3 separate regions of the Homo sapiens genome follow, and all the other regions are linked to region 1. Evidence: promoter capture Hi-C in 16 types of primary human blood cells and fetal thymus (Javierre and others, 2016). All regions are on one chromosome and are shown on one strand. Each heading gives the region's core, a stretch centred on a gene start or on the middle of the fragment in contact. The rest is flanking DNA. Distances are from core to core; before and after follow the strand shown. Region 1 holds the start of AMACR (alpha-methylacyl-CoA racemase). Region 2 has its middle 7.0 kb from the start of NIPBL-DT. Region 3 overlaps RANBP3L (RAN binding protein 3 like).

Region 1 (2,922 bases), core at 315-2,814:
TGTTTATTCTGTTGTTTCTTCTGTTGTGCAGAAGATTTTTAGTTTAATATAGTCCCATTTGCCTATTTTTTGTTTTTGTTGCCTATGCTTTTGAAGTCTTAGTCATAAAATCTGTGCCTAGGTCAATGTCCTGAAGTGTTTTATCTGTTTTCTTATAGTAGTTTTATAGTTTTGGGTTGTATGTCTTAAGTTTTTTAATCCATTCTGAGTTGATTTTTGTGTATGGTGAGGGATAGGGGTCTAGTTTCATTCTTCTGCATATGGATTTCCAGTTTTTCCAGCACTACTTATTGAATAGAATGTCCTTAATATATGTTCTTGGTGTTTTTATTGATAATCAGCTGGCTGTAAATATATGGATTTATTTTGGGGTTCTTTATTCTGTTCCATTGGTCTTTGTGTCTATTTTATGCCAATAGAATGCTGTTTTGGTTACTACACCTTGGTAGTATAATTTGAATTCTGGTAGTGTGTTGCTTCCTGCTTTGTTCTTTTTGTTCAGTGTTGCTTTGGCTATTCAGGACCTTTTGTGGTTTTATACAATTTTTTTTTCTATTTCTATGAAGAGAAAGCCACAGAGTCCTAAAATAATTCTAAAACTCATCATGACTTTCTTGCCTAAAAGATCTTGATTTCAATCGTGCCTAGTTTTGCTTTAATCACTTGCTTGAGAAATACATAAATCCCCACTTAAGATTAGTGCAGGCATATCTCTGGCACCCATTTCTGGTTCTATTAAAATTCCTAGAGATGTCAAAAATTACATTAGGCCACCTGACAGGCTATACCTAGAAGAGAAAAAATGATTTGTAAAAGCAGTGGGGCTATTTGCGATTGCTTTTTTTTTTTCTTAAATATCACCTATTAGGTTGAAAACCTGAAATTGCAGCTTTCTGTAGAAATGGCGGAAGACAAACTAACATTTTTAAAGCGCTCTCATTTAGCTCTGATGAGTACTACACCCCTGATATTCTTCTGATACTAAAATAATTTTCCTAGTGTAGTCTAAACTTTTTTAAAAAGACATGTAATCCGCGGAGTTTGTAACTCAAAACGAGTGCATCTAGGAGGTATCGCAAGCCGTTTCTGGATTAAATTCCCAGCTAGCTAGCTAGCTAAGCAGGGGCGGTGAAGAAGACAATCTGCAGCCTAGGGAAGAAAACGCTTTCGCATTGTTCTTACGTGTTTACGTTATTTTATTTCCCTAGAGCAAGGCAGGAGTAGGGACTCGAATGGTACAGTTGGGCTGGGGATCGCCCTGGTACAATAAAAGCGTCCAGAGAGGACGGTAACAGGCAGGAGCTCCAAAGGTCAGTCCCTGCAATTTAAGACTCAGGAATTTAGGTTGCACAAAAAGGAAAGCAACCTACTGCATTTGGCACTGGCGGTCCCGGGAGGCCGGGGGTGGGGAAGCGCCCAGTGCGCAGACTCCGCGGGCTTGCGCAGGCCCGCAAAAGAGGGACGGGGGTGGTGCCTTTGGGGCGCGGCGCCGCGGCTGGGGGCGTGGCGCCGGGGATTGGGAGGGCTTCTTGCAGGCTGCTGGGCTGGGGCTAAGGGCTGCTCAGTTTCCTTCAGCGGGGCACTGGGAAGCGCCATGGCACTGCAGGGCATCTCGGTCGTGGAGCTGTCCGGCCTGGCCCCGGGCCCGTTCTGTGCTATGGTCCTGGCTGACTTCGGGGCGCGTGTGGTACGCGTGGACCGGCCCGGCTCCCGCTACGACGTGAGCCGCTTGGGCCGGGGCAAGCGCTCGCTAGTGCTGGACCTGAAGCAGCCGCGGGGAGCCGCCGTGCTGCGGCGTCTGTGCAAGCGGTCGGATGTGCTGCTGGAGCCCTTCCGCCGCGGTGAGCCCGGGCCCCGCGGGCTGCTCTCGGGAAGTTCCCGCGGAGGGGAGGGGCCTGGCCGTTCGATCGAGGCTGCACCCGCCACACCTTTGCCCTGTTGCCGCAAGAACCCTTGTCGGCCCCAGCCTTCCAGATTTTTGCCTCCTAGGGTATTGTTAGTGATCATTCTTCCCAAACTGGATTGTCCAAAACTTGGGTTCTGAGATACTGCTGTTGCCCGGTTTCTCCTTTTGCCTCTCTGACTCCTTCCCAAATTCCTCCTTTTTTTTCTAAGAAACGTTCCGTATTTGCCTTTCTTAATTAATTGAGGGTCTTGAACCCTGTGAGAATCTAATGAAAGCCATAGGATTCCCTTCCTGGAAAACTGCATATAGGCGGTCATTCGGCTACCGTTTTGGAGTGCTGTACCCTCAAGCCATCCACGGGCCCAGGCTAACGCTCCTCCCTGCCTGAAATGCTGGCGTTCTAAGTCTCAGCATCTGCTCCCTGAAGCCCAGTTACCCATTCCCATCATTTTCACCTTTTTGTAGACTTCCCCCTTTCAGAGCGGCAGACGCTGGCATACACAGGTCCTGGGCATCGCCGTCAAGGCTGCCCGCCAGGCAGCTTCCACAAATCCCAAAATGAGCCTTTCCTTCTTCCTTCTAAAACAGCATCTCCACCTTCTGTATTATTTATTTCAGTGAATGCCTGAATCTCAAACTTGTACTTCATCATGGACTCCAGTCTTCCTTTCACATCCAATTTCAATGATCATCAATACAGTCATTTTGCTCCTTAGCCCACTCGGACTATTTCTCTCCATACCTGCTGCAACTGCCTTGACACTGGTGTGACAGCCTTTTAAAAACTGGTGTTTGGGGCTGGTATCACTCCAGTGGATTCTCAGACAGCTGCCAGAATAACTTTGTTCAAGTAGAAATCCAAAGCATTGCCTGGTCTATAGTGGGAAATCGGTAAATGGTGAATGAATGAATGCCTACGGCACAGCCGGCTTATTTAAATGCGTTAACTCATTTAACCCTCACAGCTGTATTTGAGGCTTGTAACAATAATGATTTAATAATTAAGATTATGTAAT
Region 2 (2,922 bases), core at 116-2,615, 2.9 Mb before region 1:
TAAATGTACTTACACTTGTGTATAGGATTTAAAAGGGGGAAACTTAAGAAGGAAGAAATTGTGTATAGAATTTAAAAAGGAGGCATTATATTGCATGAGTAGAATGAAAAGTATCTAACCAGAAAGCAAATAAGTTAAGGATTATATTATACTGAAATATTTTAATACAATTTAAATATTTCATTACTCTTTCACTTTATTTGCTATTTGTAGATTTCAGTATTGTAATGTTGGCAAGTCTATTTAAGACGGCATTAATAAAAATTTTGTTTTTCAGGCATGTGATACCAAGTCCCTTTCCATTATAGATAAGTAAGGCCTAGGTTGGTTAAAACCTTAGCTAAACACAAAATTTGCTAGAGAATCAACATATAAGAAGCTCTAACTCCAAGCTTATTCACCCCAGATATTTCACCAATGTTAACACATACCCTATTGAACTAAGAAAGGAATTATATTACTAACCAGCAGAGGGAGCCAAGTCAATCATGAAAGGTAGGAGTATAAAGGAACATCATATGACTTCCTGTTTTGAATTTAACTGTATGGCCCCTGCTCACTTTTTGAGTTTACCAAAAAGACAGTCATAAGGAGAGAAAGGCGACCAATGTATCAAATAAGGATACAGTGACAATTATAACTTAGAATTACCTTGCAGGAAATAAATTGGAAGAAAAATTGAATGCAGAACTATACAAGTGAAATGTCTCAGTATTATAACCCAAGATGGAAAAACCATGGAAAACAGTACCTTAATGCCATGATGAATTGCTAGCCAAATGTAACAGTGAATATTTCTTAATAATTCCATTTTCACTTAAAGTTGAAATTAGGCCATAAATAGACACATTTTAAAACTATAAAGTTGTACATCAAATTTATGTGCATTTAATCTAAGAAATAAGGGATAAAATTTAATAAAAAATTATTACAGTGAATTAATAAGGACATGATTTTTCAGCTTAAAATTAGAGAACAGAATTGTTTCCACTACTGTTTATAAACACAACAAATAAAGTAATATCTGTTTTGTGAGAGATGTTTGGAGGAATCTAGTAGCTAAGTGATTATGTCAGTTTATTTAATTTTGTCTAAGAACTTCAAAATGCCTGATAGAATGGGTGCATATTGAATGAATAGATGTGATCTATATATTATTTGAAGTAAAAGTATAAGAGCTGAGCGTTAGCTAACTGCATCAAAATAAATGTAAAGACCCAAACATTTTTAGTTGAATAACCAAATGAATTAGCTAGTCTAGCCCCTTACTCGTTTCAAGGTTTGTGGAAACATACCATATATACTTTTACTCATGTGTTTATTCCTTTCAAAAATATACTTCTTAAGCACTATCTCCATAGGACGTGGAGCATATCTTCATTATGAAGTAGACAAACTTCTTAAATTTTATTGAAAGATTTAATTTCATTGATATATGAACAATCATACAAATTCAGTATGCCACCAGTGATTTCAAGAAAGTGATACTTAGAAGCAAATCATTTATGGGACTAGACTGCCTTTGTAGGACTAACAAATTAGGCACAAGATTAGAAATTATAGTTTAATAGTCATGCAGCTGGAGGCTACACGATTCTGACCCTCCCTAACCTGCTCCTAAGATCAGTGCTTGAGATATTCTGCAGACCCTGCACTTGATGGATCAGCTGGCACCACCCAGATCAATAAACTGGCTCATCTGATCTTGTGGCCACCACCCAGGAACTGATTCAGAGCAAGAGGACTGCTTCAATTCCCTATGATTTCATCTCCAACCCAACCAATCAGCACACTCTATTCACTTGCCTTCCCCCACCCACCAAATTATCCTTAAAAACTGATCCCCAAATGCTCCAGGAGACTGATTTGAGTTATAATAAAACTCCGATCTCCAGCCAAAAAATAAAAAATAAAAAGCAAATTATTTGATTTTGAGTACTAGAAAGTAGACTTTAAACTTTTTGAAGGGTATATTCTTTTATAATGCTATATTATACTGGCATTATTTTATAAATTGGCATTTGGTGTCAAGTCAGTTAATCACAGCGATAATATCCAAGATGTACAGCTCATCAGTCCTAGAGACATTTTTTTTTGTTTGTTTAAGACAGAGTCTCTGTCACCCAGGCTGGAGTGCTGCAGTGGTGCGATCTCGCCTGCCTCGGCCTCCCAAAGTGCTGAGATTACAGGCGTGAGCCACTGCGCCCAGCCTAGAGACATTTTAATGCCAAAAAACCCTCAATGCCACCAGTATTACTACTTCTAATTATTTGTTTCCTTTACACACGAGTTGTGATGAATATGGGCTATTAGAATTGCATAAACAGCCTAAGCTTTTAAATGTTTCCACTCATGAAAAATAGCTATTATGAACTTTTAAACATTAAATTAATAAAGTGCAATAGCTTTACCATGAACTATTCCTTATTGATAAACATAGTAATGGGTTAACTCATGTCAAAGTCCAATAAAAACTAGTAACTTTGTCACCAAAGTCAACATTTCAGCATCTATGATATGTAGTATAGGTATTTCTGTTTTATCTAGTTTTCATTTAATAATCTAAAAGATTCTGGCCGGGCACGGTAGCTCACGCCTGTAATCCCAGCACTTTGAGAGGCCGAGGGAGGCAGATCACGAAGTCAGGAGATAGAGACCATCCTGGCTAACATGGTGAAACCCCGTCTCTACTAAAAATACAAAAAATTAGCCGGGCGTGGTGGTGGGCGCCTGTAGTCCCAGCTACTAGGGAGGCTGAGGCAGGAGAATGGCGTGAACCCGAAAGGTGGAGCTTGCAGTGAGCCGAGATTGCACCACTGCACTCCAGCCTGGGCGACAGAGTGAAACTCCGTCTCAAAAAAATAAATAAATAATAAATAAATAAACTCAAAAACCAAACAAAGGCTGGTGAGAAAATAGCTC
Region 3 (2,922 bases), core at 352-2,851, 2.2 Mb before region 1:
GGAATGTCCAAGCAAAGTGATGGACAGGAAATGGAAGTCTTTATTCTCTGCAATCCTACAATTTTCTATAGTGTAAAATAGTGAAAGAGGGATGGTCTTAACTAATTTAAATTCAAAAATTCAAATAGAAATTTTATATAACAAAATTTCACTTTCTAAATTTAAAATGTGTACATTGGGATTGCTTATAAAAGTATACATTTTAGGATTCAATTTGGTTCAAGATTGTCTTTTTACTGCTTAATTTTTAGGGTTGTTAGCACCTATGTACACTGTAGATTTATGCCATGTAATTCCTTCCTTATTAGTAGTGAAAGATTAAAAATCTGTAAAATGTAGCTAACATATTAATGATTTTCTTAACAATTTAATGTTCCTCATGCAGGCCAGTGCCCAAGATACAGCATATTTGTATGCAGCAATACATCATCGTCTTGTTGCACTTCAAAGCTTCAATAAGCAGAGAGATGTCAATCAAGCTGAAAGCCTGTCAGAAACAGCCCAACAATTGAACTGCGAAAGCTGTGATGAGAATGAGGATGATTTCATCCAAGTCACTAAAAATGGATCAGGTAAATAGCTTTTGTTTTGTTAGTTCAGAGGTTTAAAAAAGAATTCTTAAGCACGATCCTAATATATTAGGTAGATTTTTTAACAAGTGGAACTGCTCTGTTTAAAGTTAGTGGTGGCTAGAGCCTTAGTTGTTTGGATCTGAGGAGTGGGTTTGAAAATCACTGTCTTCTATAAGTGGTCTTCATTTTATCAAGTCAGCTTCATGGTGATGCCTATGTCATTTGCTTATAAACTGCATAAAAAACTATTACATTGCTACCCTGAAATTAACCCTTCATTTTTATTTCTCTTCACTTATTTTCATTTTATTATTGGCTATACTAGGAAGAATTATAAATACATATAATAAGCCCACTTGGTAAACTTGGCTTGATACCCTGAAAATTCGTTTATTCCCTTTTTAGAATTTGACTGCTTGTAAGAATAACTAGATTGTACAAATACTATTTTCAAGGACCTATTTTATCTAGGGGAAAAAGTACTATTTCTTTTATTGTATCAGGATTCACAAATAAAGTAAGGTTGAAGTGGAATCAGTGATAAACAGACTGTTAGGTTTTAGTGCTTATCTTGATATGTGGATTTAAAACTAATATTCGTACTTCTCTTTGGAGAAAAACAATGTCAAACATAGTAAGCTCAACTTTGTTATACAGATGTAATTATTCCAATAAAAGTCATCCAAGCGTTTTCACTAACAGTTTCACTTAGTCCTGAATTCTGTTTTACAGAGGACTGAGTAATACAATTACAACGATAGTGTGGTAACAAGCATTTTTTTCAACTCTTAATCATTTTGAAATATTAAAGCTGCTTTAATCATATGTAATTTAAGAATCTATCAAAGAACGTACATAACTGGATGAAATATCTTCCTTTGCTTAATATTAAAGCTATAATCAAAAGGAAAAATACACAAAACATGCAGATCAGTATTATAACCTGCTTGACCCAGTGATTCAGAAAACTAAGTGAATATGATTTTTTTTGCTACTTTAAGCAAATCTATTAAACAAATGGTTTATTAGTCTTTAAAACATATAAAATAAAAAAATCTTTTATTTTATAATAATGTTTACACTGCCAACAATAAAATGGGGTCTATCAGAGAACTAGTTGGTACACATTAACAATGTCAATTTGAAATAAGGATTAAATAGCAAATTCTCTCACTAACTAATGACACATGTTTATGATATCTATATTCTGTTATATTCCATTTTAGGAAAGGGGTGCTATGTAACTATCTTAATAAAAAACAATGAAAATAAGGCAAAGCAAATGTCAATCATATGAACCCCCTTTCCCCTGCCATTTTTTCCCATTTTCACTTAGTATCTTCTCCAGGAGGCAGTAAAAACAAATGCTAAAATGTTATGGAAGCAATAAAAGGTCTAATTTTTTGCACTTTGTTGCTTATAAATTATCTAAAAGAGGCATGATTAAAATTTTAGCAACATCTCTAAATGTTGCTTGTAAAAATGTATATTCTGTAGCTTTTATTTCATCACCAATGAGTATATTCATTAATATTCATGTTTAGTTGCATTCAATATTAAAAATCTACCCTAAATATAATATTGTATAATAAAACATTTTAAATTTATATCACAGATCCTTCTAGTTGGACTCACAGACAGTCGGTTGCCTGTTCATGAATACTACCTACTATAAACATGACATCTACAAAAAGAGGGGTCACCCTACTGAAAATACTAAACCACCCTAACTAATGAGAAGATTCTATTCATTCCTTGAAGAGTTTTTATAGAAAAGTTTAAGAAATGTAATTTGTTGCAATTAACATTTTTATGTTTTACATTTTACATTTTGATTATTGTGCAGAAACTGACAGAATTTAAAAAAATGGACTTCAGAAGTTCAAAATTTATCATTTTTGAAGAAGTTTATTTAGAATAGGATTTTATAACTAATTTGGACTCTTCATCACATTGATGGATATAATACTTAGAATTATAAATTGCTAGATTTGATAAATACCTAACAAAATGTTTATTTTTTTCAGTCATACTTGACCACAAAACAAATATTTTACTAAATTTCCAGAGTCATTTCTCTGAAAAATAGTATAATGGCATGATAACATTTCACTAAATCCTATTTATCTTCTGGGAAATATTTTAATTTAGCTTTTGGATTTCCTAATATGATAAGCTTATATATTCATGGTATGAATTCCTTTAAAAAGAGCATCTGCTCTTGGACTTGTATCTGTTGCATCTTGTCAATGTTTGACTCATGGTCAGCATCCAATAGTTGTTAAATGAATAAATAAAATATAATACATTACCTATGTATCAAAAAGCATGTGTAAGAAAGCCAAATATG

The links. Contacts are between HindIII fragments. The CHiCAGO score rates a contact against its expected background, and 5 or more counts as called.
Region 2: a fragment that was not itself captured here is called in contact with the fragment with the promoter of AMACR in region 1 in 1 of 17 cell types (non-activated CD4 T cells); the score reaches 5.0 in non-activated CD4 T cells.
Region 3: a fragment that was not itself captured here is called in contact with the fragment with the promoter of AMACR in region 1 in 1 of 17 cell types (activated CD4 T cells); the score reaches 6.1 in activated CD4 T cells.

The regions. Positions count from the first base shown.
Region 1 is chr5:34,006,692-34,009,613 of GRCh38, reverse strand. AMACR (alpha-methylacyl-CoA racemase) reads left to right here and starts at 1,564. Exons shown (of 5, transcript NM_014324.6): 1 at 1,564-1,841. The coding sequence starts at 1,595. All of the region lies in intron 6 of C1QTNF3-AMACR (C1QTNF3-AMACR readthrough (NMD candidate)), which reads left to right. RefSeq lists a silencer at 1,348-1,427. The HindIII fragment of the contact is 12,530 bases long and covers 1-2,922 here.
Region 2 is chr5:36,868,188-36,871,109 of GRCh38, reverse strand. No RefSeq gene overlaps it. Among named protein-coding and RNA genes, the nearest start is that of NIPBL-DT, 7.0 kb to the left of the region's middle. The HindIII fragment of the contact is 1,941 bases long and covers 395-2,335 here.
Region 3 is chr5:36,248,963-36,251,884 of GRCh38, reverse strand. RANBP3L (RAN binding protein 3 like) reads left to right here. Exons shown (of 14, transcript NM_145000.5): 13 at 386-572; 14 at 2,188-2,922. The coding sequence ends at 2,231. All of the region lies in intron 1 of LOC124900962 (a long non-coding RNA gene), which reads right to left. Among named protein-coding and RNA genes, the nearest start is that of NADK2, 8.5 kb to the right of the region's middle. The HindIII fragment of the contact is 2,298 bases long and covers 453-2,750 here.